Regions from separate parts of the Homo sapiens genome. Here all the other regions are linked to region 3. The links are contacts of gene promoters, found by promoter capture Hi-C in blood cells and fetal thymus (Javierre and others, 2016). All regions are on one chromosome and are shown on one strand. Each heading gives the region's core, a stretch centred on a gene start or on the middle of the fragment in contact. The rest is flanking DNA. Distances are from core to core; before and after follow the strand shown.

What was found. Contacts are between HindIII fragments. The CHiCAGO score rates a contact against its expected background, and 5 or more counts as called.
Region 1: a contact is called between a fragment that was not itself captured here and the fragment with the promoter of PDE7B in region 3, in 1 of 17 cell types (total B cells). The highest score is 5.7, in total B cells.
Region 2: a contact is called between a fragment that was not itself captured here and the fragment with the promoter of PDE7B in region 3, in 1 of 17 cell types (total B cells). The highest score is 5.2, in total B cells.

The regions. Positions count from the first base shown.
Region 1 is chr6:135,650,953-135,653,831 of GRCh38, forward strand. All of the region lies in intron 3 of AHI1-DT (AHI1 divergent transcript), which reads left to right. Among named protein-coding and RNA genes, the nearest start is that of LINC02524, 18 kb to the left of the region's middle. The HindIII fragment of the contact is 1,410 bases long and covers 845-2,254 here.
Region 2 is chr6:135,698,142-135,700,841 of GRCh38, forward strand. The region is part of intron 5 of AHI1-DT (AHI1 divergent transcript); the gene reads left to right. Among named protein-coding and RNA genes, the nearest start is that of LINC02524, 65 kb to the left of the region's middle. The HindIII fragment of the contact is 645 bases long and covers 970-1,614 here.
Region 3 is chr6:135,850,269-135,852,968 of GRCh38, forward strand. PDE7B (phosphodiesterase 7B) reads left to right here and starts at 1,433. Exons shown (of 13, transcript NM_018945.4): 1 at 1,433-1,751. The coding sequence starts at 1,731. RefSeq lists a silencer at 1,220-1,457. The HindIII fragment of the contact is 11,590 bases long and covers 1-2,700 here.

The sequences.
Region 1 (2,879 bases), core at 300-2,799, 200 kb before region 3:
TCTCCCATTTGGAATGGCTGTATTTACCCAATGCTTATACCTCCATTGTATCTAAAAAGTAACTAACATGCTTTTGATTTTACAGGCTCATAGGCAGAAGGGACTTGCCTTGTCTCAGATGAGACATTGCACTGTGGACTTCTGAGTTAATACTGAAGTGAGTTAAGACTTTGGGGGACTGTTGGGAAGGCATTACTGGTTTTCAAATGTGAGGACATGAGATTTGGGAGGGGCCAAGGGTGGAATGATATGGTTTGGCTCTGTGTCGCCACCCAAATCTCATCTTGAATTCCCACATGTTGTGAGAGGGACCCAGTGGGAGGTAATTGAATCATGGGGGCAGGTCTTCCCCATGCTGTTCTCGTGATAGTGAATAAGTCTCACAAGATCTGATGATATTATAAGGGGAGTTTCCCTGCACAAGCTTTCTCTTTTTGCCTGCTGCCATCCATGTAAGATGTGACTTGCTCCTCCTTGCCTTCTACCATGATTGTGAGGCTTCCTCAGCCGTGTGGAACTGTAAGTCCATTAAACCTCTTTCTTCTGTAAATTGCCCAGTCTCAGGTCTGTCTTTATCAGTAGTGTTAGAGCAGTCTAATACGTGCACATAAAAACAGAGTGTCAAAATATGTAAGCAAAAACTGATACAAGTGCAAGGAGAAATAGTTAAATCCAGTATTATTATTGGAGATTTTAACACACCCCTCTATTAGAAATGGACAGGTCCAGTAGGCAAGAAGATCAGTAACAACAGAGTTGAACTCAACAACACCATCAATCAACTGGTTATAATGGATATCTATTGACTACTTCATCTAACAACAGCAGAATACACATTCTTCCAAGCTTACATGGAACATTCACCAGTATAGAACATATTCTGGGCCAAAAAACACATACCTTAACAAATTTGAAGGAATAGGAATCATACAATCAATGTCTTCTCTCAGACTGCAATAAAATTAAACTAGAAATCAAAAACAGGTAGTTGGAAAATCCCCACATACTTAGAGATTAAACAACATACTTCTAAGTAACACATAGGTCAAAGAAGAAATCTCAAGATAAAATTTTAAATACTTTGAACTAAATGAAAATGAAAACACAACTTATGAAAACTTGTGGGATGCAGCAAACATCTCACAAGTTTTTAAAATGCGTAAAGGGAAATATACACAGTAGTACTTCCTCATTTGCAGTTTTACTTTTTGTGGTTTCAGTTATCTGTGGTCAACTACAGTCTGAAAATATTAAGTGAAAAATTCCAAAAATAAACAATTCTTAAGTTTTAAATTGAATACTGTTCTGAGTAGCATGATAAAATCTCTTGCCTTCCCACTTCATCCCCTATGAGATGTAAATCCTCCTTTGTTCACCTTATATACATTCACTACCTGGCCATTAGTCATTTAGTAGCAGTCTTTTTTTTTTTTGAGACAGGGTCTCACTCTGTCACACAGGCTGGAGTGCAGTGGCACTGTCTTGGCTTACTGCAACCTCTACCTCCTGTGTTCAAGTAATTCTCCTGCCTCAGCTCTGCCCCCCTCCCCCCAGCCCCCCACCGTCCCTGAGTAGCTGGGATTACAGGCAGGCCACCATGCCTGGCTAACTTTCGTATTTTTTGGCAGAGGCGGGGTTTCACCATGTGAGCCAGGCTGGTCTCGAATTTCTGGCCTCAAGTGATCTGCCTACCTCAGCCTCCTGGAGTGTTGGGAATACAGGCGTGAGCAGTCTTGGTTATTAGATTGACTATTGTGATATGACCGTGCTTGTGTTCAAGTAACCCTTATTTTACTTAATGGCTCCAAAGCACAAAAGTAGAAATGCTGGCAATTCAGATATGAAGGAAGCCATAAAGTACTTCCTTTAAGTGAAAAGGTGAACATTCTTGACTTAATAAGAAAAGAAAAAAATTATATGCTGAACTTGCTAACATCTACGGTAAAAATGAATCTTCTATCCACGATATTGTGAAGAAGGATAAAAAAATTCATGCTAGTTTTGTTGTCACACCTCATGCTGCAAAAGTATGGCCACTGTAAGTGCCTAGTTAAGATGAAAAAAGCGTTACATTTTGTGGCTGGAAGACAGAAATAGAAACATATTCTGATTTACAGCATTTAGGCTGGGTACTATCCAAGGTTTCAGGCATCCACTGGAAGTCTTGGAACATAGCGCCTGTGGATAAGGGGAAACTACTGTAGTATTGAATGCATATATTAGGAAAGCAGAAAGATCTAAAATCAATCATGCAAGCTTTTACCATAGAAAACTAGAGAAAGGGCAAATTAATCCAAAGTAAGCACAAGAAACAATAAATATTAGAGTAGAAATTAAAGAAATTGAAATAGGAAATCAATAGGGAAAATTTTTGAAACCAAAAGCTGGGTCTTTGAAAAGATAACAAAACTGATAAGCTTCTAGCCAGGCTAGGAAAAAGAAGGGCACAAATTACTACTTTTGGAAGGAGGAGATTTCACTTCAGAGCCCATGGACATTGGAAGGATAATAAAGGAATACTATGAATAATTCTGTGCCCACAAATTTGATAACCTAGGGGAAATAGATGAATTTCTTGAAAAATAAAATCTGATAAAACTCACACAAGAAGAAATAGACAATCCAGATAGGCCTAGATCTATTAAAGGAATGGAATTAATAATTAATAACCTTCCAAAACAGAAACCATGAGACCCTGATCAGTTCACTAGTAAATTCTACCAAATACTTAAGGAACAAATTATATCAATTCTCTACAGTCTTTTCTAAAATATAGAGGCATATGGAATATTTACTAACTCATTCTATGAGGCCAGCTTCACCATAATGTCAAAATCAGACAAAAACATTATGAGAAAAGATCAATATTTCTTATGAAT
Region 2 (2,700 bases), core at 42-2,541, 150 kb before region 3:
ACAGAGTAGGGAGCTACACAGAAAACGGGCTTGAGAAATATACACAGTGGGTCCCATGAGTCTGAAAAATATCAAGACAATGCACAGCGTGAAATGCTACAAGGCTGGGCAAAGAACAACTGTGGAGTTATGAGAGGAGCGTATTTCCACAATACACACAGACTGCGGAATCATTTGCATTACCACCAGATAGCATGGAGAGCCCTCATTGAGCCTCTTTACTTGGAGAATGCAGTAAAGACTCCATCCAGAAGGACTACTCTGCAGTAGTGGGCTAACCCATTCCTAGAGGAAAGGTTTCTCTAGCCCTGCCCAAGCACAACTTAAAAGCAAGTCTCAAAACCATCTAACTAAATACTTATATTAGAAAAGAAGTAGTATCAACAATCAATGATCTAAATTTATTAGAGTCTAAATTCCCACCACAAGAGGCTGGAAAAGAGAAGAAAAGTTAAACCAAAGTAAGCAGAAGGAAGAGAATAAAAATGATAACAAAAATAGAAAACCCAAGACAAACTGAGAAAATTTATGAAACCCCAAGCTGGGTTTTTGACAACATCAGTAATATTGGTAAATATCTAGCAAAACTGATACAGGAAAAAAAGGGAAGACAAAAAATTATCAGTCAAGAATTAAAGAGGGGACATCATTAACTATCCTATAGATTTTACCCAGATAATAAGGGAATATTAGTAACAAATTTATAATGACAAAGTTGGATTGTTGGGAAAAGCATCCTGTGGTAGCAGTAAGTAGCCATCCAACAAAAGCCACTATAACAATAACAAAAACACATCATTCATTAACCAATTTTATGTGGCAGGTCCTGGTTAAAGACAGTGGAAAGAAACCAAAACCAACTAAAGAAGAAAAGCAAGGATTATTTATTCAGTGTTTGCTATAGCAAGGGGAGTCTGCCACTGTCACTTGTGTTTTGGGAGAGAATCAAAGGCAAGCAGAGGAGTGGGAAGCTTCATAGTGAGAAATAAAGGGAAGGCTTCAATCATACCCTGACTGGAGGCTGTTGTCTTGGGGAAGTTGGAGGTAGGCTAACCAGAAGCAGAACATCCTCTGTGATTGCTTAGGGGTGCATATTTGGCTTTCTCTGGTTTGTCCTAAGTTTGGAGTGGGGACAGATATTGGGAAAGCTGTCAGTTATGAATCAAGTCCTGGCCATTTTGAGCCGATTGTTACAGAAGTTTTTGCTTAGCTTCCTATATTGTTTCTACAGATAGCAGCCTGACTTATAGCAGGCTGGCTTCCTGGACTATTTATTGAAGTTAACAGATTGGCTTTCTGGACAAGATTCTGGAGGTTGATGGTCAAAGTTCTATTTTTATACATGGATTAGTTCATGTCAGTTTGTATATTCAGTCCCTCAGTAATAAATGATATAGTGATACCCAATTCATTCTGAAAGCATAATGAAAAGAGTGACCCAGTCTTCCTGGGAGCATCCGAGAAGCCTTTACAGTGAAGCTAATATTTGAAGTTGCCTTAAATTCTGAGGCAAAAAGAAGATGAGAAGAAATTGCTACCAGAGATGACCACATTAAAAAAAATAATAAGCAGGTGGGTGGGTGGTGTGTTTGAAGATTAGTGACCTTTTAAAGAAGCTTGAACATAGGCGGGTGGAGGCAGACAGCCAGGAAAGAAAGGTGGAACCAAAATGTAATGGACTTTGAGTGTTGTTCTAAGATGTAATCTTATGGGCTCCAAGGGAGACAGGATGCTTTAAAGCCAATAGTTATAATATTAGACTTGTATTTTAGGAACATGATCCTTTTGATAGTGGAAAATATGCATGGGGTGGGTCAGGAAACTGGAAACTTGCACACAAGCTAGGATGGTATTTTACCAATTGGAGGAAGTGGTGGGAAAGGCCTTGATTTGGGCAGGGACGGTGGGGATACAGCAAAGGGCAGATAGAACAACCAGGGCAACATTTTGGACATGCAGTGCGTGCTCCGTAAATATCTGTTATATTTTTAAGTGAATAAATGGGACATTTAGGAAGTGGAATGGGTTAGGTTTGGTGACTGATTGGATATTATAAGGACAGGAAATAGTCAAGAACTACTAAAGTTTTTAGCTTCAGTGACTGATTGTATAGCAATGCTATCAGCCAAAGTGTGAAAAATAGGGGTGTGGCAGTTTATGAGTGAGGATGCCAAGTTTCATTTGGGGCATGTCTTTAGGGCTTATAAAATTGGAATCAGGGTTTGGGGGGGTCACTGATGGCACATAGGTAATAGCTGGAATTATGCAAAGAGGTGGGATTGGTCAGAAAGACTTTCCAAAGCTAGGGGAGAGGGTCCAGTCCTTGAATGCACTGATTCTCACTTTTTAAAATTATTTATTTATTTTTTTTGAGCCAGAGTCTCACCCTGTTGCCCAGGCTGGAGTGTAGTGGTATGATTTCGGCTCACTGCAACCTCTGCCTCCCAGGTTCAAGCAATTCTCATGCCTCAGCCTCCTGAGTAGATGGGACTATGGGCACATGCCCAACTAATTTTTGTATTTTTAGTAGAGATGGGGTTTGGCCCTGTTGGACAGGTTGGTCTCGAATTCCTGACCTCAAGTGATCCACATGCCTCAGCCTCTCAAAGTGCTAGGTTTACAGGCATGAGCCACCATGCCAGCCTGCACTGATTTTTAAACAGTGGATAAAAGAGGAAGAAACAGTGTTTGCCATTAAAT
Region 3 (2,700 bases), core at 183-2,682:
TCCTAAAATAGCACACACACCACACACACACACATGCACGTGTACACACACACCTCATTCTCCTTACCTTATTTTGAAGCCCTCATTGCCAACTGACATTATACGTTTACTTATTTTTCTTTGACAATTTCCCTGCTTCTCCAAAATGTAGACTCCATGGGGGCAAAGAACCATCTGTTTTGTTCACTATTGTAGCTTCAACACCAAAGATAAACCCCAACAACTACAGGGATGCTTAATCCTAGCGCCTAGGCTCTTAGGGATACATAAATACTTTCTTTCTCAAAGAAACAATATTAGTATTTGAAAAAGGAATGTGGACATTCTTTAGTGTTGCGCCCACCCCTAAAACATAGTCTGCCTCGGAGCAATGGAGAAATCTGATTGGCCCCTGTGGGTCCCATGCCCCCTTGTGGCTCTGTCGTGGGAATGGGGCTGGGGGCAAAGTCCATGCAATCCATAGAAGATAGAGGAAGGAAAGTTCCGCCCACCGCCCACCCAAAAAAGGTCTGTTAGCAGAATTTAGGATGGGGATGGGGAAAAGGAGGAGGATGTGGGGGAGGCAGAAACAACAGATGGCAACTATGGGGATTTTTCCAGAGTGGGAAGTGTAACCCAGGGATAAGCTGGGGTCCCTGGTAAAGGAAGTATCCCTAAATAACTGGACCTTCATACTCTTTGGGAAAGAACAAGCTGAGGCCCCAGGCACACCTGCATGGCATCACCATAGCCTTGCTTCTTGAATGACTCCTGCTGGCATCAGGAGGCATCTCCCTGGCAGGAACAAGCCTGAGGCTTCACCACGGAAGCTGGAGGAAACGCAGGGACCCATGGCACAAACTGACACAGGAGTTCTATGTTTCATTGCACATCATTTTGTTCACCAGTGCATTTGTACGATTCTGCCTCTATGGCTATCAAGTTTAATTAACAACTCATTTTTAGGTAAGAGTAAAAATGAATTAGGTAAAAAAAAATAAGCAACAGCTGCCAAGTGAGCATGGAGCACATACACTCACAGATGGAAAAAATCTACATCTTGCTGCTATGATTTAGCTCAGGGTTTTATATTTAATTTTTGTTTTGTTTTGCTTTTGTTTTTATACACCTCACCACAAGGTATTTTAAATTCTTTAAATGTATTCCCGAATATAGAAAATGTTTCTTGGGCTCTCCTGAGAGTGGGGTGCCCAGGCTGACCACAGGCACACACACATTCTTCCCATAGTACAGTACTTTAAAATTAATAGCACATGCAGAGGAAAAACTAAACCCTTTGACGTCACTCTTGAAATGAGGAAACATAAACAGAAAAGGCTCCACTCCAGTAAGCTGCCAGAGTTGAAGCCGATTGGTCTCTGCTTTTCCTTGCCTGTGGCAACTGACAGCACCTCCCAGCCTAGCAGGCCGGCGGCTGCTCACCCAGCCAGTCAGTTGGTCTGGGCACTGCAGCAGGCTCGGCTCTGTCCCAGCACTTGTCTGGGAGAAAAGTGGTGTTACTCACCCAGGGAGAGTCTCTCTTTCTACCTTCCTTCTTTCTCGATCTCCTTGTGTGCTTTTGTGTTTCTTTATTTCTTTTCCTTTTTTTTCTTTTTTTTTTTTTGTTACTTAATTATATTCCTAATCCTGGATGAAGTTGCTGGATTCTGCAGCACAAGTCTTCATGAACAAGCAGCACCGCTCAGAGATTTCACGGCATTCAAAGGTCACAGAACTGCCACTATGGTTAAATGTCTTGTTTAATGGTTGAGGTATGTACAACAAATTTAAGCGGCAAGCTCAGTTTTCTTGAGAGAATAGAGTCACAGAGAGATGGCAGGATTTTTATTTAAAATGAACCTGTACATATATATGTTTTTTGTCTGTGATTGTTACTACAGCAACCAGCTTTTGAATTTCCTTCCTTTTTCTAGGCGAACTGACTAAACATTATCACTTACCCTGAATTAACCGTTTAAGGGCAGCAGGGTTTCATTCCAACCAGTGTAATGAGACTCCGGCATTTTCACTGCACTTTGAGCCCACACTGAGGTGGTCTTTAAAAAAAAAAATAAAGAATGCAATATTTTTTTTCTCCAACATAAATCTTGGAGTTGGGTAATTTTCATTTTTGGTGGGACAGGATAGGAAAATGCTGGTAAAGGGATTGGTAAGGTTTGTGGAACAGGGAAGAAGGAAATTAGTTTTTTTCTTGAGTTTTTCATGTTGGTTGATAGCAGACTTCAAGATGAAGAAATTAGTGGCAAGAAGGGAAGAAGCTGATAGTGAGACTGAAGGTAGAAAAAAATCAATAGAAGATGTCCAAAAAATGAGCTCTGAAGAAAAATCCTTCATCACCTTGTTGCATTTTTCAAAAAATGTTTTGGATTCAGAAGTCCAGGAGAGATGCAAGTACTAAGTTACATGACCAGAAATTTAGATATTATTATTTATAAAGGAAAGTAAAACTTCTTTATTACCACTGCAAATTTGCTAATTATCTTTTCCTACAATAGTTGAAAATGGAGTCAGATATTCAATTAGGGGCTTAAGTGATTGAGCCTGGGGACTAATTAATCATTTAAAAATTCTGTTCTTCATGTGCTCTAGCCAGAGTGACTATTGCAATAAGAGTAAACCTCTTTGCACCAGAGACAGGCATAGGCATTCATATACAGTAAACACACTAAATGCTGCAGGAAGATTGGCAATTCAATACAG